Regions from separate parts of the Homo sapiens genome. Here all the other regions are linked to region 4. Evidence: promoter capture Hi-C in human tissues and cell types (Jung and others, 2019). All regions are on one chromosome and are shown on one strand. Each heading gives the region's core, a stretch centred on a gene start or on the middle of the fragment in contact. The rest is flanking DNA. Distances are from core to core; before and after follow the strand shown.

Region 1 (2,700 bases), core at 142-2,641, 450 kb after region 4:
GAAACATTAGTTTGCCTCACTCTAAAGAGTGTTTCCTTACTCTTTATCGGCTTCAAGGGCCCAGGGAGTGTCGGAGAGGGGTCCCGGGTCTGCAAGAGCTGGGAGCCCCGGCCCCGGCAACCCCCTCTCCGGCATCCTGCAGGAGGCACCCAAGATGATGAGCCCCCCTCCTCCGGCAGCGTCTCCACCGCCAGCCTGCCCCAGGACTCCGAGACACACGCTTGGCAGAGGGGCCGTCCCTTCCAGCTAAGCCTTTCCGGACCCAGTCAAAGTCACGACTCCTGCCAATCCCTCTGAGATAAACATAACAGATGGGCCCAAACGCGGTGGGTCCACAGCAGAGGGTCAGCGATGCCCAGGGTAGAATAGGCTCTGCCTCTAGCATTCAAGTGGTTTAGGTCTGTGGCTGGTAAAATGGAGATGATTCCGGTTTGGTCTGACAGATGGGATTATTCTAAGGTCCGGAAATCACTTTATAGACTGTCAAGCACTGTTAGAAATGAACACTGGGGTAAGCTTTTGTTTGGGGAGGGGAGGGTGCAGCGATCCTGAGATACCAAGGCTTGGGGGACTATTGGAGGACCTGGGGGATTCGGGGGGATTATTACAGAGGGTGTGCGAACACAGGTGCACGTGGAAGAAAGCCCAAGGTGGGAGAGAGAAAAGGGGGAGACAGAGGTGTGGGGCTGCCAGGGCAGAGGGCAGGTGCCAGGGGGAAGGTCCCTGAGAAGAGAGACACAGGTTGCTGGGGGAGTGGGCACGAGAGTAGCGAGCAGATACCTGGATATGAGGAAAGGCAGTGGGGGACGGGACTAGGTCCAGGTGTGAGTTGCGAGGCCATGAGTTAGGAGTCACAGGCTCAGGTGTGGGTGTGGGGGTGTCATCGACAAGGACAGACTCAGGTGATGTGGGGGGTGTTCGTGAGTGGGGGCGGGTGTTCGTGAGTGGGGGCGCGGTGTCAGGTGTGTGAGGGGGATGTCAGACCCAGCTGTGCGGGGCGCCGGGGACAAGGCCCCAGGGGTGTGGGAGATGTCAGCAAGGACAGTCTAAAGTGTATGGGGGATGTCAACGAAAAGGGACGTGGTGTCAGGCGTGCGTGGACTGCGGGTGACGGGCTCAAACCTGGATGCAGTAGCCCCCAGGGGGCAGTAGACGTGGAGTGTGGGGTTGGGGGGGGTCTTTAACCTCTTCCTGCCCTCGCGACGCTACTGTCATGCCCCGCCTCATCCGCCCCTCGCCCCGGGATCCATGACAGGACCCGTGCCTCACCTCAGTTCAGCCCGACAGGCGCGGGCCGCTGACGCTTGGGCCCCCCCGGCGCCCCCCGCGCCCCCTCACCGGCCCGGACGCGTCGCCGCCGCCGCTACCTCCAGCCGCCACGGCCCCGCCTCGCGCACCCCCAGAGCGCGCCACGGGAGGGGTCCACGCCACGCCCCGATTGGCTGCTCCCTGGCCAGTCAGCGCTGGAAGCGACAGTGATTGGCGAGTATGAAGCAGATGGGCAGCCCCTAAAGCCAATCGCTGATTGGCAGAGGTGGGGCTATTGGGAGAGGCCTGGGGTGCCTGAGTGGTCCCTCAGGGTGCTAGGCGCTGGGAGGCGAGGGCCTGGAGGCAGGCGAGGATTGGAATCTTGGCAGAAAACAGGCAGAACTGTCGGCCAATCGCTGGGGGCCAGGGGCGGGGCTACGAAGAAACTGGCGCTACCGGTGGGGCAGAGGCGAGAGGAACGGAGGGCGTAGCTTGGGGGGAGACCGGGATTGGCCGCAAAGCCGAAGACTGGCAGGCCCCGCGGCCAGTCGCAGCGGCCGTGGGCGGTACGCCCCCAGGGGAGGGCTGGAGCGTTCAAGGTGCAGTCCGACCCGGAGCGCGGCAACCCGACGTGGCCTCGGACGCCTGGCGCAGGGTCCCCTGAGGCTCTCGTGTAGAGCCCGCCCTCTGGCCACCTAGCACAGAAGCGGATGTGAACTTGGACCATCAAGGCTGAAGGACTCCTGGATAATTCTCTATCCCCTTACTCCCCACTAATCCCCTGCAGACGACACGGAGAGGGCAGATTCGCTGGAGGTCACTCTGAACTGCCCTCTCCATCTCGAGGTGGTGTGAAGACATGGAAATAAGGGGCGGAATCCTACTGAAACGCGCTGCGTGGTTTTCTGAGTGTCTGACCTCTCTGCGTCCCAGCTTTCCCCGCCACGGTATCCAGTGACATCCCTGTTGGGCCTTCTCCCTGCCAAGTCTTTTTTTGAATTAACTGAATCTTAACCACAATCCCATGAGGTCAGAGAGACCACTGGCTCCTTTTACAGAAACCAGAGCACAGAGAGGTCAAGCTCCTTGCCCAAGGTTACACAGCATTCTCTGGTTGCTAAACCAGAGAATGAATCTAGAGCAGCCTGCTTTTTGGAAAGAGTGTGTCAGAGAAGAGCCACTGGGGGCCTCAGAGACCTGGGTTTGAATCCTTGTCCAATCACTGGCCCACCACACAACCTTGGGCAAAAGCCCTTGTGAGCCTCAGCTGTTTCATTTGGAAAAGAGGGGGGAAAATGATTCCTATGCCTTGATCTTTCCTCTCTGGGGTTGCTTCCCTGGGAAAATTTACAACTCAGCTCTCATTTTAATTATCTGGTGAAAGCATTTGACCCTGAGCAGGTCATGTGCGGCCTGTGAGCCTCAGCTCCTCTGTGAAGTGCAGAAAAATGC
Region 2 (2,700 bases), core at 115-2,614, 480 kb after region 4:
CAAAAAAAAAAAAAAAGGCCAGGCAAGATAGTGCACACCGGTAATCCCAGCTACTCAGGAGGCTGAGGCAGGAGATCGCTTGAACTCCTTTTGACTCCGTTTCAAAAAAAAAAAAAATACAAAATTTAGCCAGGTGCGGTGTTGCGCACCTGTAGTCCCAGCTACTCGGGAGGCTGAGGCAGGGGAAGCCCTTGAACCCGGGAGGTGGAGGTTGCAGTGAGTCAAGATCATGCCACTACACTCTAGCCTGGGCGACAGAGAAAGACTCCGTCTCAAAAGAAAATTAAACGTGTGCCATGACATGCTGGGGACTCTAAAAGACTCCATCCACATGTCCCTCTACCAGCCACACCCACTCTGGTTCAAACACCAGCCTCCCCTAAGGGCGGCGTCACCTGCCACTCCCAGAGCCTAGACTCCACCTCACTCACGTGCTCAAAGCCCGGTAGTGGCTTCCCAACCCTCTCAGAACAAAACCCAGCCTCCTTATCCGCACCTTCTCTATCTAAGCCTTCCAAGTTCCTCTTCCCCGCCTTTCTCATCCTTCCCAGCACTCAAGAGACAGCCTTCAAAACCACTTCTAGATAAAGAGCAGCCCTGCTTTCCCGTCCCATCACTCTGTTATTATTTGCACACCATTACCTGTATCTAGAGCAACATCGTTCACTCATTTATTTGTACCCTGTAGCCTCCTTGTCCCCACTGCCTAGGACGGGGCCCGACACGCAGCAGGCACTCAGTGCACAGGTGCTGAATGAATAAATAAAATGAATGAAAATAAAGCGAATGCCAGGGAAGCCGAGGATTTTGTCCCCAGGCGGCTTCTGTAAAATTCTTTCATTTTTTTTTTCCCCCCAAACCACGTACCCGAGGGTCGCGCCAGCCCGACCCTGCGGCACCCCCACTCCCCACTCCGCGCGGGACAGGCCTCGGCAGCCGCAGCGTCTCACCCGGTCTTCGCGGCCACGTGGGGAAAGGTGGGGCGCGCGGTTGTCACCCAGGGAGCCGCCTCTAGCCCCTTCCGGCCGCCGTACGCGCGCAGGCGCTGTGGCGCCCCTAGGCTTGGCCTCCCAGAGACTCGCGGACGCTCACGATAACCAAGGACGACCGCGAACCAAGGTAAAGCCAACGAGGCCACCTCGTGCGCGACGGAGGCGTCTTTGCCGCCCCTTCCGGGACGCTCACGGTGGTCGCCGCCCCCAGCAGGGAAATGTTTTGCCTCCAGAGCGTCCGCCCAGAAGAAGCGGACAGCGCGCTTGCGCAAGAGAGCCGGGCCGCGGCGGCCCGCGCCTGCGCACCAGGACTCGGCGGCGGCTTGCGCCTGCGCGGCGCGGCGCTGCGGAGACCGTTGGTTCATTTGCATGTCCCCGCCTCGCGCGGCGGCGGCGGCGGGTGAGGAGCCTGAGGCGGCGGCGGGGGTGGCTCCGCGCGCGGTGGTCTCGGGGTGAGGCCCGGGCCCTGGCGTCGTCGGTGGGTGGCTCCCGGGGTGGGAAGCTCGGGCTCGGCCTTGGGGGCCCGCCCCGGGCTCCGTGATGGCGTCGCAGGCTCGGCCCTCTGGCTGCGGCGGCGGCCGCGTCCCCGCCGGGTTGGCCTGGGTGGCCGGCTGCGGCCTCCCGGGCCCGGCGCCCCCATTTCCTCGCCCGCAGAGGCCGGGAGACGGCGGGCCGCGTCCACAAAGGCTCATTGGTTCAGTCGTTCATTCATTCCTCCCGAACTCGGAGCGGCCCCCGCTCGGGAGGAGATAACGGCGCCCAGCGCTGCATCGGGCCCTTGCCCTCTTTAGAACCGGTTCAGCCCCCACACCAGCCCCTTTACTGGCTGCCCATTCCATAGGTGGGGAAACGGAAGCACAGAAAGCTTAGAATCGTGTGATTTGAACCTGGGTCACCTGACCCGGGAACCCTGCCCTTTGCCAGCAGAGAACAAGGGGGCGCCCCGGGAAAAGGGCTGAAGGATGGGACTGGGGGAGGCGGGTGGGGGAGGCGGTGATCGTGATGGGAAATGGACCCTACGGGTTGTCTCTTGAAGTTGGAGGTTTTGCGAAGCGGGATATCTTGATGGTTAAGGATGCAGCCCCTGGACCCCAAAATGTTGCTTAATCTTTTTACTCATTCTTCGGGGCTTTGGATGCACGAATACCCTTTTTGCCAGGTTCAAATCTGGGCTGTCTGGTCTTGAATGGGTCGTTGAGTCTGTCTCCCTTTGCCTCCTCACCCTAATGTCATTCATAACAGGACCCGCCTCTTCAGTGGGTGGTTGGGAGATCGCGCAAGGACCCAGCGCAGAATGAACTGTCACTAGTTCATTGTCATTGGTTGGGGGTCCCGCCACTCACTGTCAAGAGGCTTCTTTTAGAAGGGAAGGAAGTTCTCAGAGCCTCTGTGCCCTGCTGAGTCTGTGAATGGGAAAAGAGTGATCCTGGGCCAGGCGCAGTGGCTCACGGCCTGGAATCCCAGCACTTTGGGAGGCCGAAGCGGGCGAATCACTTGAGGTCAGGAATTCAAGACCAGCCTGGCCAACATGGTGAAACTCCATCTCTACCTAAAATATAAAAATTAGTCGGATGCGGTGGCGGACTCCTGTAATCCCAGCTACTCAGGAGGCTGAGGCAGGAGAATTGCTTGAGTCCAGGAGGCGGAGGTTGCAGTTAGCCGAGATCATGCCACTGCACTCCAGCCTGGGCAACAGGGAGAGTCTCAA
Region 3 (2,700 bases), core at 173-2,672, 370 kb before region 4:
CTAGACTCAGATAAATATACATTACAAATCTAACCTATAAAATTATACAAACTACATAAGCAAGATGACATAGCAAAATACCACCAGTTCTGATTTCTTCCTGGACACATAAATGTAACAAAAACATAGTGACAAAAATAAAATTGTAAAAAATTTATAAATGAGTTAAGTGTGTGAAGGGCTCCAGGTGAGCAGAATGCAAATAGCCACATAGAAGAAAAAGAAAGCTCTGTTAGTTATACCCAACACAGCTCTTCCTGCTGCCCAGTATAACATTGTGCTTTTAAAAGTAAATTGCCAGTTGGGCATGGTGGCTCACGCCTGTAATCACAGCACTTTGGGAGGCTGAGGTGGGTGGATCATGAGGTCGGGAGTTCAAGACCAGCCTGGCCAAGATGGTGAAACCTTGTCTCTACTAAAAATACAAAAAATTAGCCAGACATGGTGGCGGGCACATTTAATCCCAGCTACTCGGAGGGCTGCGGCAGAGAATTGCTTGAACCAGGGAGGCAAAGACTGCAGTGAGCCAAGATTGCACCACTGCACTCCAGCCTGGGCAACAGAGTGAGACGCCATCTCAAAAAAAAAAAAAAAAAAAAAAAAAAATTAAATTGTTGGCCAGGCATGATGGCTAATGCCTGTAACCCCAGCACTTTGGTAAGGCAAGGCAGGTGGATCACCTAAGGTGAGGAGACTGAGACCAGCCTGACCAACATGGTGAAACCCCATCTCAACTAAAAATACAGAAAATTAGCCAGGCATGGTAACAGGTACCTGTAATCCTAGCTACCTGAAGGCTGAGGCAGGAGAATTGCTTCAACTGTGGAGACGGAGATTGTAGTGAGCTAAGATTTTTGCCACTGCACTCCAGCCTAGGTAAGAGAGTGAGACTCTGTCACACACACACACACACACACACACACACACACACACACACACAAATATAAATTGCCAACTCCTGGTTTCTTTTTTAAAAATAAGAAAAATATTGGCACATACATCTTTATTTCTGGCATCTATGAACTTTTTTAGACACCGGCTAATGTCTCCCATGACATAAAATGCTGAAACAGTGATATGTTAGAATGACAGTTTGAGTCTGCTGAGTCTAAAGGTAAATGTTACAGAAGCAGAGAAACTGCAGTAATCCAAACAGGAATGGCTGTAGCAAGTGATTACTGATTATTAGGAAGAAATATGAATAAGCCGATTTAACTAAACAATAAACACAAAATTTTAGACAAGACACATCCTAAAAACATGTTTGAGAAATTCCCAGAATCTCTAGCCAAAACAATTGATTTCAGACTACACAAGGACAAAACTATATTATAAAGATTGGCACAGGTAGCTTTTTGTTAATGCCTGAATCTCACTCAAAGATTACAATGTATACAAAATATTTGGGCAGCATGGCCCATCAAAAAAATTATAAAATTTTCAAAAGCAGCCATAAAAAGTGAATAAAGTAATTTTTAAAATTCAGAATAAATTGAACAGGCCAAGCTTGGAAGCTCATTCCTGTAATTCTAACACATTGGGAAGCCAAGGTAGGAAAATCACATGAGGTCAGGAGTTTGAGACCAGCCTGGCCAACATGGTGAAACCCTGTAACTACTAAAAATACAAAAATTAGCTGGGCGTGGTGGCATGTGCCTGTAATCCCAGCCACGTAGGAGACTGACACACGAGAACTGCTTGAACCCAAGATGGGAAGCTTGCAGTGAGTGACTGTACCACTGCTGGCCAGGCTGGGCAACAGAGCAAGCCTGTCTCAAAAAAAAAATAAAGTAGGACAGGAACAGTGGCTCATGCCTGTAATCCCAGCACTTTGGGAGGCTGGGGTGGGTGGATCATTTGAGGTCAGGAGTTCAAGATCAGCCTGGCCAACAGAGTGAAAGCCTATCTCTACTAAAAATACAAAAATCAGCCAAATGTGGCAGCATGCACCTGTAATCCCAGCTACTGGGAGGCTGAGGCAGGAGACTCACTTGAACCTGGGAGGGGTAGGTTACAGTGAGCCAAGATCATGCCACTGCACTCTAGCCTGGGCAACAGAGTGAGACTCTGTCTCAGAAAATAAATAAATTAATTAATTACATAAAAGAAATTGAATGATATTCAGTAAGTGAAATAGGAACACAGACGACTACTGAAGATCAGAAAAATGAGGATAAACAAGAAAAAATATTAAAATAGAAAAAAACAAAAATTATGGATATAAAAAATATAAAAATAACTTAAAAATTTCTTAAAAGAAAAAATAATGTAAACATGAAGAAGCTGAACAAACTAGGATACACAAAAAGATATTTATCACAAACACACCTATAAGCAAAATTTCAAAAATCACAGATAAGAAAAGAATTTTGGGTGCTGCAAGATAAAAATGATGTGTCATTTATAAGCATAGTCTTATAAGATAACCAGTGAATTTATCAAAAAAAATTTTTGCAGAAAATAATACCATCGGCAAAATTGTACTATCATATAAAAAGGAGTCCTTCCAAAATAACCAAATCCTAAGAAAGTATATTGGCACTGCATATGCCCTACCTATCAAAGATGCTGAAAGAAGTTTCTTCCACTGAAAATAACATAATACAAGAAAACAACACATGATCATATGAAAATACATAACTTTCTGGAGAAGATATGCACATACACAAAAATAGAATTCCTTACTTATTATCATAATGG
Region 4 (2,700 bases), core at 199-2,698:
GACCAACATGGAGAAACCCCGTCTCTACTAAAAACACAAAGTTAGCCAGGCGTTGTGGCACATGCCTGTAATCCCAGCTACTCAGGAGGCTGAGGCAAGAGAATCGCTTGAACCCAGGAGGCGGAGGTTGCGGTGAGCCGAGATGGCGCCATTGCACTCCAGCCTGGGCAACAAGAGCAAAACTCCGTCTCAAAAAAAAAAAATTGAAAATTTAAAGAATATGGATTCCTGTGACACCATGCAGGCGGGGGCTGCCAGCAGGGAACCACTGCATAGAACATCTTGTAAATTCCCTCCAGGTTCCGGGTTGCGGCCTCAGCTTTGCCTTGGGGAGCCGCGGCCTTCTTTGGGCCTCAGTTTCCCCATCTTAGAAATCCAAGGGTGGCTGAGGGCCAGAGCACAGGCTATGACTCAGTTTAACCCACTGTAAAACGTAAATAACTAGAGGGACCGATTTCCTGGGCTGTTACGAGAAGGAAGAGGAGCTGGGAAAGACCTCAACAAACTGCAGCACTTAGCGTTATTACAGAAGCTATGATGGATCCCCGGGCTCCGCCTCCGGTCACACCGCCGGGAAAACTGAGGCCCGCCTGTGTCCCCGGAACCCCGCCCCCGAGCCCCGAGTGCCCAGACTCTGAGACCCCGGCGCAGAGTGATACTGACCCGACAGTCCTCGACGCGGCAAGTTCCGTTTGTAGTCGATGGGCCCATAGCCCCCCGGCGGAGGCATGTCCTGCTTCACCTTTGACGCCGCCATACTCGCAGTATCCCACACTTCCGGTCCCGGGCGGAAGTGACTTACTGCCACCGCCATGATGAGTGTGGCGGAAGCACTTGAGATGGTCCGCGGCACGGCTAGGAAGTCCCGGACAGTAGTGTAACTATCCGACCGCGCGGGAAAGCTCTGGCGGCGGACCCTGGGTAGGAATGCGCTGCCGGGCTGCAGCTGAGGGGTCTTTACTCCTCTTTTGCCCAGACAGGGCGTGACTCGCCTTGGTTCTTGCATTATAGGCCCTCGCGTTCACCTTGCCTCTGGGGTGTTGCGCAGGCCAGTCAGAAACTCCGAGCTCTCAAAGGAGCCAGGTGCCCCAGTTAAGGCCCCTTTTCCCGTTTTCGCCCCGTCTAGGGACTCTACGCGAAGCCCAGGGCTCCACGTAGTCACGGGCTGGGTACATGATGTTGGGGGGCAGCTGCTGCTCGAAGTCGGACTCACCCCAATCCCTGGAACGGATTCTGCTCCCTGGTGGTGATGGGTATCCCTTGCTAGTGGCCTCTCATCGGAAACTGACCATTCAGGATGATTATGAGTCACAAAGCAGGGAGGCTAGGGTGGCCCCGGGGCGGGGTCCCGGACCCCCACCCTAAGGCGGAGTGACGCCCGCAGTCACTTCACAAGGCAAAAATTGTTACGGGGCAATAAAAGGCACAACAGCGGCCAATGTCTGGCAGTGGGCACATGGGGGTGCGGGGGTGTAGGTGCCAAGCGCCATGGCTTAGACCCGAGATTGGAGTCCGGCCGCCCCCCGACAGCAGCCGCCTCCTGCCCCCCGTGCGCCCTAGGCGCCACCATGTCGGGAGACAAACTTCTGAGCGAACTCGGTTATAAGCTGGGCCGCACAATTGGAGAGGGCAGCTACTCCAAGGTGAAGGTGGCCACATCCAAGAAGTACAAGGGTACCGTGGCCATCAAGGTGGTGGACCGGCGGCGAGCGCCCCCGGACTTCGTCAACAAGTTCCTGCCGCGAGAGCTGTCCATCCTGCGGGGCGTGCGACACCCGCACATCGTGCACGTCTTCGAGTTCATCGAGGTGTGCAACGGGAAACTGTACATCGTGATGGAAGCGGCCGCCACCGACCTGCTGCAAGCCGTGCAGCGCAACGGGCGCATCCCCGGAGTTCAGGCGCGCGACCTCTTTGCGCAGATCGCCGGCGCCGTGCGCTACCTGCACGATCATCACCTGGTGCACCGCGACCTCAAGTGCGAAAACGTGCTGCTGAGCCCGGACGAGCGCCGCGTCAAGCTCACCGACTTCGGCTTCGGCCGCCAGGCCCATGGCTACCCAGACCTGAGCACCACCTACTGCGGCTCAGCCGCCTACGCGTCACCCGAGGTGCTCCTGGGCATCCCCTACGACCCCAAGAAGTACGATGTGTGGAGCATGGGCGTCGTGCTCTACGTCATGGTCACCGGGTGCATGCCCTTCGACGACTCGGACATCGCCGGCCTGCCCCGGCGCCAGAAACGCGGCGTGCTCTATCCCGAAGGCCTCGAGCTGTCCGAGCGCTGCAAGGCCCTGATCGCCGAGCTGCTGCAGTTCAGCCCGTCCGCCAGGCCCTCCGCGGGCCAGGTAGCGCGCAACTGCTGGCTGCGCGCCGGGGACTCCGGCTAGAAGCCGGGTGGTTCCAGCCATTCCTGCAGCCAAGGGCACTGGGCCAGGGCGGCGCACGCGCAAGAGGCGCGCTTCGAGGGAATATGCGAAGCTGCCGCGTGCTGCTGCACATGCGCTTTTTCCCTTCCGCTTCCCTCCCTTTCTTCCCACGGGGGAGTCCGCAGTTGCCCTTGTTCGGAATCCACGTTCCCCGCGATCCCGGGAGCTGGAGGCGCATGCGCATCCGCGATTCCCTGCGACCAGGCCCCGAGAGGGCGAGACCAGAGGGGACGGAAGCATTGCGCCTGCGCGGAACTCTCAGCCTCTGCGC
Region 5 (2,700 bases), core at 158-2,657, 350 kb before region 4:
ATGTCCTTTGCAATAACATCAATAAAGCTGTAGACCATTATTTCAGAAAACTAATGCAGAAACAGAAAACCAGACATTCGCCATCACACCCAGCTAATTTTTGTACTTTTAGTAGAGATGGGGTTTCCCCATTTTGGCCAGGCTGGTCTTCAACTCCTGACCTCAAGTGATCCATCCACCTCGACCTCCTGAAGTGTTGTTATTACAGGCGTGAGCCACCGCGCCCGGCCCCATAAATTTTTAATAGGAGAAAAGGGAAACTGTGAACCCTGACAGATATAATAGATTCCTCTTCAAGGGCCTAACTTTCTTGTTCCTTGTTCTTAGGACCAACTTTTTTGTACCTCTTTGTACCTAGACACCCGCTCCGTAAACAACCCAAACCGCCTGTTCCAATCTGCGACCCGAACCCCTTCCTTATTTGGAAAGTAGCCAATCGGGTCAGCCTAGATTGTGAGGTCAGACCCCGGCCAATGGGGGAAGGACACAGAGGCAATAACGGCGTTTAGGGTTAAAAACCCCTTTCAAACTGGGAGGCCGAGGCGGGCGGATCAACTGAGTTCGGGAGTTCAAAACCAGCCTGACCAACATGGTGAAACGGCATGTCTACTAAAAATACAAAATCAGCCGGGTGTGGTGACGCATGCCTGTAACCCCAGCTACTCGGGAGGCTGAGGCAGGAGAATCACTTGAACCCGGGAGACGGAGGTTGCAGTGAGCCGAGATCGCGCCATTGTACTTTAGCCTGGGCCACAAGAGCAAAACTCCGCCTCAAAAAAAAAAAAAACCTTCCTTCCTTTCTTCTGTGTGCTCTTGCGATCAGGTCGGACGCGAGCAGCACTCTTCTTCAGAAGTAAATATGCCTTCCTGTGAAATTTTCTAAGTGCTGGGTAGTTTTTTGTTTTGTGTTGTTTTGCGGCACCAAGCGCTTGTTTCTAACAACCTCACGGACCAAAGCTCTTCCCATTCATGAACCCGCAGGGAACCGAGTCAGGATTCTCCCCTGACGACCCTCCCGTGGTCCTTGCATGATCTGGGAGAGACGCGGTGCTGCGGGTGCAGAGCTGCTGAAAGAGGGCTCCAGGCCAGGGCACAATCACTGTGCCGGGCCCCGGATGTCACCGCAGCCGCCATCTTATGGCTGAAGGGGACTGAGGCCGAGCTGGGCAGGGAGAACTCCGGCGGCAGATTGTGGAGCTGACTGTGAGGAAGCAGAGTCCCGCCAGAGCCACTTCCCACCGTTCCAAACAGCCTCTCCCCTCTCTCGGGACGTTGGACCCGGCACTCACCATTTCTAGGCTTCCAGGGGTCCCGGGGTTTAGCTGTGGCTCTCCCAATACTTGCAGGTCACACGGCCACAGAGGACGGGCCTCTATAAGCACAGGACACAGAACACTGAGGATAAACCTGGAGCTCCCGCTGCAGCGAGAAACAAAGGCCCCCAGAAACCATGTGGTTCGCTCCAGCTGCGTGCCTGATTGGACGGTTTCCGGCCCAGCGTCCCTCATTGGATAATGCCTAAGGCCCCGCCTCCCCAGCCGCTGAGTGACAGATGTGATCAGATACTGGGCTGAGTGAAGAAAGAGTGACAGCCTAGGCTGCAGCCTTTTCTTTCTTTCTTTCTTTCTTTCTTTCTTTCTTTCTTTCTTTCTTTCTTTCTTTCTTTCTTTCTTTCTTTCTTTCTTTCTTTCTTTCTTTCTTTCTTTCTTTCTTTCTTTCCTTTCTTTCTTTCTTTCTTTTTCTTTCTTTCTTTCTTTCTTTCTTTTCTTTCTTTTTTCCCCCCACCGAGACGGAGTTTCCCTCTTGTTGCCCAGGCTAGAGTGCAATGGCACGATGTTGGCTCACCGCAACCTGCACCTCCCGGGTTCAAGCGATTCTCCTACCTCAGCCTCCCATGTAGCTGGGATTACAGGCATGCCTCACCACGCCCGTCTAATTTTTTGTACTTTTAGTAGAGACAGGGTTTCTCCGTGTTGGTCAGGCTGGTCTCGAGCTCCCGATCTCAGGTGATCCGCCCGCCTCGGCCTCCCAAAGTGCTGGGATTACAAGCGTGAGCCACCGCGCCTAGCCTAGCTGGAGCCTTTTCAAACGGCTTCCTCCCTGAGCTGAGCATCCCATCCCAGAGCATGGGAAAATTCTATCTCATATTCTCTCTCTTTTTGAATGTATTCAAAAGGTGAACAGAAGTACTTTGCTGTCATATTAATAATACATGAAATGTTTGTTCAAGAGAAAGTCAACTTTTACTTTGGTAATAGTGTATTATCAATACTAAAGCTAATTTTAATAAGACCTTGTAAAGCCAGGTGCGGTGGCTCAGGCCTGTAATCCCAGTACTTTGGGAGGCTGAGGAGGGCAGATCACTGGGTCAGGAAATCGAGACCATCCTGGCTAACACGGTGAAACTCTGTCTCTACTAAAAATACAAAAAATTACCCGGGCGTGGTGGCATGCACCTGTGGTCCCAGCTACTCAGGAGGCTGAGGCAGGAGAATGGCTTGAACCCAGGAGGCAGAGGTTGCGGTGAGCCAAGATCGCACCACTGCACTCAAGCCTGGGTGACAAAGTGAGACTGCGTCTCCAAAAATGAATAAATACATAAATAAAACCTTGTAAATAAACAAAATTTGTCATTTTTGACCTCTCGAGATTTACATATATAATTTGTAATCTCCTGTAATTTTTTAACTATATTTTATT
Region 6 (2,700 bases), core at 10-2,509, 380 kb after region 4:
TCACGCCTGTAATCTCAGCACTCTGGGAGGCCGACGTGGGCGGATCACCTCAAGTCGGGAGTTCAAGACCAACCTGATCAACATGGAGAAACCTCATCTCTACTAAAAATGCAAAATTAGCCAGTCGTGGTGGTGCATGCCTGTAATCCCAGCTACTCGGGAGGCTGAGGCAGGAGACTCACTTGAACCCAAGAGGCGGAAGTTGCGGTGAGCCAAGATCACACCATTTCACTCCAGCCTGGGCAACAAGAGCGAAACTCCGTCTCAAGAAAAAAAAAAATTAATACACAAATACATAATAAAATGTAAAAACGAAAAGGTAATTACTCAGGCCCCACACACAGGAACCCACCCCCATAAAGATGCTCAGACACTCAGTCATACCCAATATATGTCTACACTCAGGCAGACACACTCATCCACAGAAAGACAAATGGCAAAACCGGGGCACAAACACCAGAAGCCCTTTCCTCCTAGCGGTGAAATAAAGAACATCAGATCCCTGAAGCTGACATTTGGTCCTTGATCCAGCCACGCCTGAAGCTGACACTATGGCTAGTATTTTCTGTCACATGAGCCAAAAATTTTCCTTTTTTGCTTGAACCCATGTTAGTTGATATTTTGTGGAGCACAGCCAGAGTCCTAGCTGATAGAGATGAATAAGGCACTTGCCAGGTGAAAAAGATTGAGGCATTCTTTTTTGCTTTTGTTTTGTTTTTATTTTAAGATTGAGGCATTCTTGAAGGCATTGCAAGATGTAGGATATTTACAAAGGCCTGGAGGTATGAGACAGCATGGTGGGTGCAAGTTGTACTATAGGGTGCACAATAGTGCTAGCAGCAGATTTAAGTCAGGCAGAAGGGTCTGAATTCAGTCTGAGTACTTAGCCTACTTAGTACTTAGGAGTACTAAGTACTTCGTCTACTAAGTGGGAGCCATTGAATGTTCTTGATGGGGGGAGGGAATTCTACTCTCAGAAATGTCCCTTAGGTGGGAATAAATGCTTTCGCTGCAAACCTTTGAGATAAGTGTAGGAAAGAGAAAACTAAGCCTTAAGAGAGGTCGGCCACGCAGGCCTCCCAGACACAATCTTCACTTTGATCGATCCGAACCAGCGTATCTGAACTACAATTTCCGGCATGCAACGCGAGCGGCCTCCTCGTCCCTGGTGATTTGCCGGCTCAAGACACACTGATTGGTCGGACGGGATGCTCGTCAGACCAGAGTCGGGCTCTAATTGGTCGAGTTTCCGCAGAGTGCCCGGAGCCCTAGGCCGGTGGGTGAGTGCACCGCGTTCTCGCACGCGTCATGGTGAGCGAGCGTCCCGCGAAGTGGGGGGTTCTGCAGGGCCGAGGTCCAGCCGAAGGGGTCCAGGGAGACACTGAGGGAATGGATTGGGGTTTCTTCTTGGGGATTGGAGGCTCTGAGGGATTCGGGGGCACGCTGAAGGCCGTGTGTCCCTCTCTGGGAGCCCTGCTCTCGCTACAGGACCTCCGAGGGAGTCGGCGGGAGTTGTACCCAGGGGGACTAGAAGCCCCTAAGCGTTCTGGGGATTCTGCCCTCGAGACCTTTTAGGGGTCTGGGATCCTTTTGAGGGGTCGTGGTCCCACAGAGGGGACTGGGGACCCCAGCACATTTGGAACCTGGTTAAGGCGGTGTGGGGTCCTGTTGGGGGTCCACTCTGGGGACGGGGGTCCTGCAGGAGCGTGGGGGCCGCGCCGACAGGATCCATCGGGGGTCCCTGCTATATCGGGGTGTGTGGAACGGGCAGGGGAGGCCGTGGGAGGTGGACTCAGGAGGTCTGGTTGGCCTCAGGGCGGGCAAGGTTCTCAGAGTGGGAGACAGGAAAGTTGGAACCTTCAGGTCTCACGCGGCTCTGGGTCCAACCTATTGAGTGTGTTCTTAAAACTTAGCCCAGCCCCTGGGGGTCAGGCTGGTGCAGGGAGATGGGGGACTCCCACAACCCTGACGGGACCGGCCTGGGCAGAGAGAGGGACGTGGAACTGGAGGGTCTCTGCCTGGGACCATCCCCGAGGAGGGGCGCTGGAGATGGCCCTGAAGGAAGGGCACTGATGGCCGGAATTATTGAAAGTGGGGCGTCGTCCCAGGCGGAGGTGCAGGACGCCGTAGGAGATGAAGGCACAGGCTCCCGGGAATGAGGAGGGAGGCTGCATTGATTTTATCAGGGTTCTTGAGTTCGAGAATCGTAAATCCAGTGAAGGGAAAAGAAGGAGCTGATGGAAGACTCCAGAAAATTCTTGCAGATGTCTGCAGAGCCCTGACCCTGAGACAGGAGGCTGGGTGGAGGGCAGGGCCATCAGAACATCCCTGGACAGACCTCTGGGAGCCTTAGGTGGAGAGATGCACCCCTCCACCACCTTTTCCCTTGGGGGGTTTTGGGGGGTGGTGGGGTCATTGATGAAGAGCCCAAAGGTCCAGGAAGACCTCTGAGACTCCAGTGGTTGGGTGCAGGGAGGGCTGAGGAGAGAGCTGAGCTGTGGGGAGGTGGAGGGATGGTCTCTAGCTATGCCTGCAGGGTGCAGAACCAAGTTGGGGGCTGACTGTGAGACTGGGAAGGGCCTGAACCACCTGGAAGGGTATGGGATGATGGGTGAGTGCTAGGGTCTCCCAGGAGAGCCTGGAGGAGGCTACTGGTTGAGCTCAGCAGAGAGGTCTGGGCTGGAGGTGTCACCGTGCTGA

Evidence for each region. The method cuts DNA at HindIII sites, captures the fragments that hold promoters and counts their contacts. A contact is called where the count stands out against the background at its distance.
Region 1: the fragment with the promoter of SLC25A42 here is called in contact with the fragment with the promoter of TSSK6 in region 4 in 2 of the 25 tissues and cell types used here (dorsolateral prefrontal cortex and spleen).
Region 2: the fragment with the promoter of SUGP2 here is called in contact with the fragment with the promoter of TSSK6 in region 4 in 3 of the 25 tissues and cell types used here (H1 embryonic stem cells, dorsolateral prefrontal cortex and spleen).
Region 3: a fragment that was not itself captured here is called in contact with the fragment with the promoter of TSSK6 in region 4 in 1 of the 25 tissues and cell types used here (spleen).
Region 5: a contact is called between the fragment with the promoter of ZNF253 here and the fragment with the promoter of TSSK6 in region 4, in 2 of the 25 tissues and cell types used here (heart right ventricle and spleen).
Region 6: a contact is called between the fragment with the promoter of TMEM161A here and the fragment with the promoter of TSSK6 in region 4, in 3 of the 25 tissues and cell types used here (H1 embryonic stem cells, dorsolateral prefrontal cortex and spleen).

Annotation. Positions count from the first base shown.
Region 1 is chr19:19,062,685-19,065,384 of GRCh38, reverse strand. It overlaps SLC25A42 (solute carrier family 25 member 42), which reads right to left and starts at 1,391. Exons shown (of 8, transcript NM_178526.5): 1 at 1,270-1,391. It overlaps LOC124904655 (a long non-coding RNA gene), which reads left to right and starts at 1,860. Exons shown (of 3, transcript XR_007067160.1): 1 at 1,860-2,195. RefSeq lists silencers at 1,220-1,489, 1,750-1,919. The HindIII fragment of the contact is 11,421 bases long and covers 1-2,700 here.
Region 2 is chr19:19,032,181-19,034,880 of GRCh38, reverse strand. SUGP2 (SURP and G-patch domain containing 2) reads left to right here and starts at 1,364. Exons shown (of 11, transcript NM_001017392.5): 1 at 1,364-1,444. It overlaps ARMC6 (armadillo repeat containing 6), which reads right to left and starts at 1,278. Exons shown (of 9, transcript NM_001199196.2): 1 at 951-1,278; 2 at 643-750. The coding sequence starts at 671. RefSeq lists silencers at 1,275-1,704, 2,125-2,204 and an enhancer at 2,131-2,632. The HindIII fragment of the contact is 6,904 bases long and covers 1-2,700 here.
Region 3 is chr19:19,888,739-19,891,438 of GRCh38, reverse strand. All of the region lies in intron 3 of ZNF253 (zinc finger protein 253), which reads right to left. Among named protein-coding and RNA genes, the nearest start is that of ZNF93, 11 kb to the left of the region's middle. The HindIII fragment of the contact is 3,621 bases long and covers 1-2,700 here.
Region 4 is chr19:19,514,296-19,516,995 of GRCh38, reverse strand. It overlaps TSSK6 (testis specific serine kinase 6), which reads left to right and starts at 1,448. Exons shown (of 1, transcript NM_032037.4): 1 at 1,448-2,700. The coding sequence starts at 1,569. The coding sequence ends at 2,390. NDUFA13 (NADH:ubiquinone oxidoreductase subunit A13) reads right to left here and starts at 771. Exons shown (of 5, transcript NM_015965.7): 1 at 664-771. The coding sequence starts at 757. RefSeq lists an enhancer at 593-872 and a silencer at 1,083-1,202. The HindIII fragment of the contact is 21,153 bases long and covers 1-2,700 here.
Region 5 is chr19:19,864,589-19,867,288 of GRCh38, reverse strand. It overlaps ZNF253 (zinc finger protein 253), which reads right to left and starts at 1,407. Exons shown (of 4, transcript NM_021047.3): 1 at 1,290-1,407. The coding sequence starts at 1,292. LOC124904664 (a long non-coding RNA gene) reads left to right here. Exons shown (of 4, transcript XR_007067169.1): 1 at 1-853. RefSeq lists an enhancer at 947-1,376. The HindIII fragment of the contact is 7,733 bases long and covers 1-2,700 here.
Region 6 is chr19:19,137,037-19,139,736 of GRCh38, reverse strand. It overlaps TMEM161A (transmembrane protein 161A), which reads left to right and starts at 1,259. Exons shown (of 12, transcript NM_017814.3): 1 at 1,259-1,311. The coding sequence starts at 1,309. RefSeq lists enhancers at 852-1,041, 1,322-1,531, 1,016-1,877 and a silencer at 1,182-1,261. The HindIII fragment of the contact is 19,527 bases long and covers 1-2,700 here.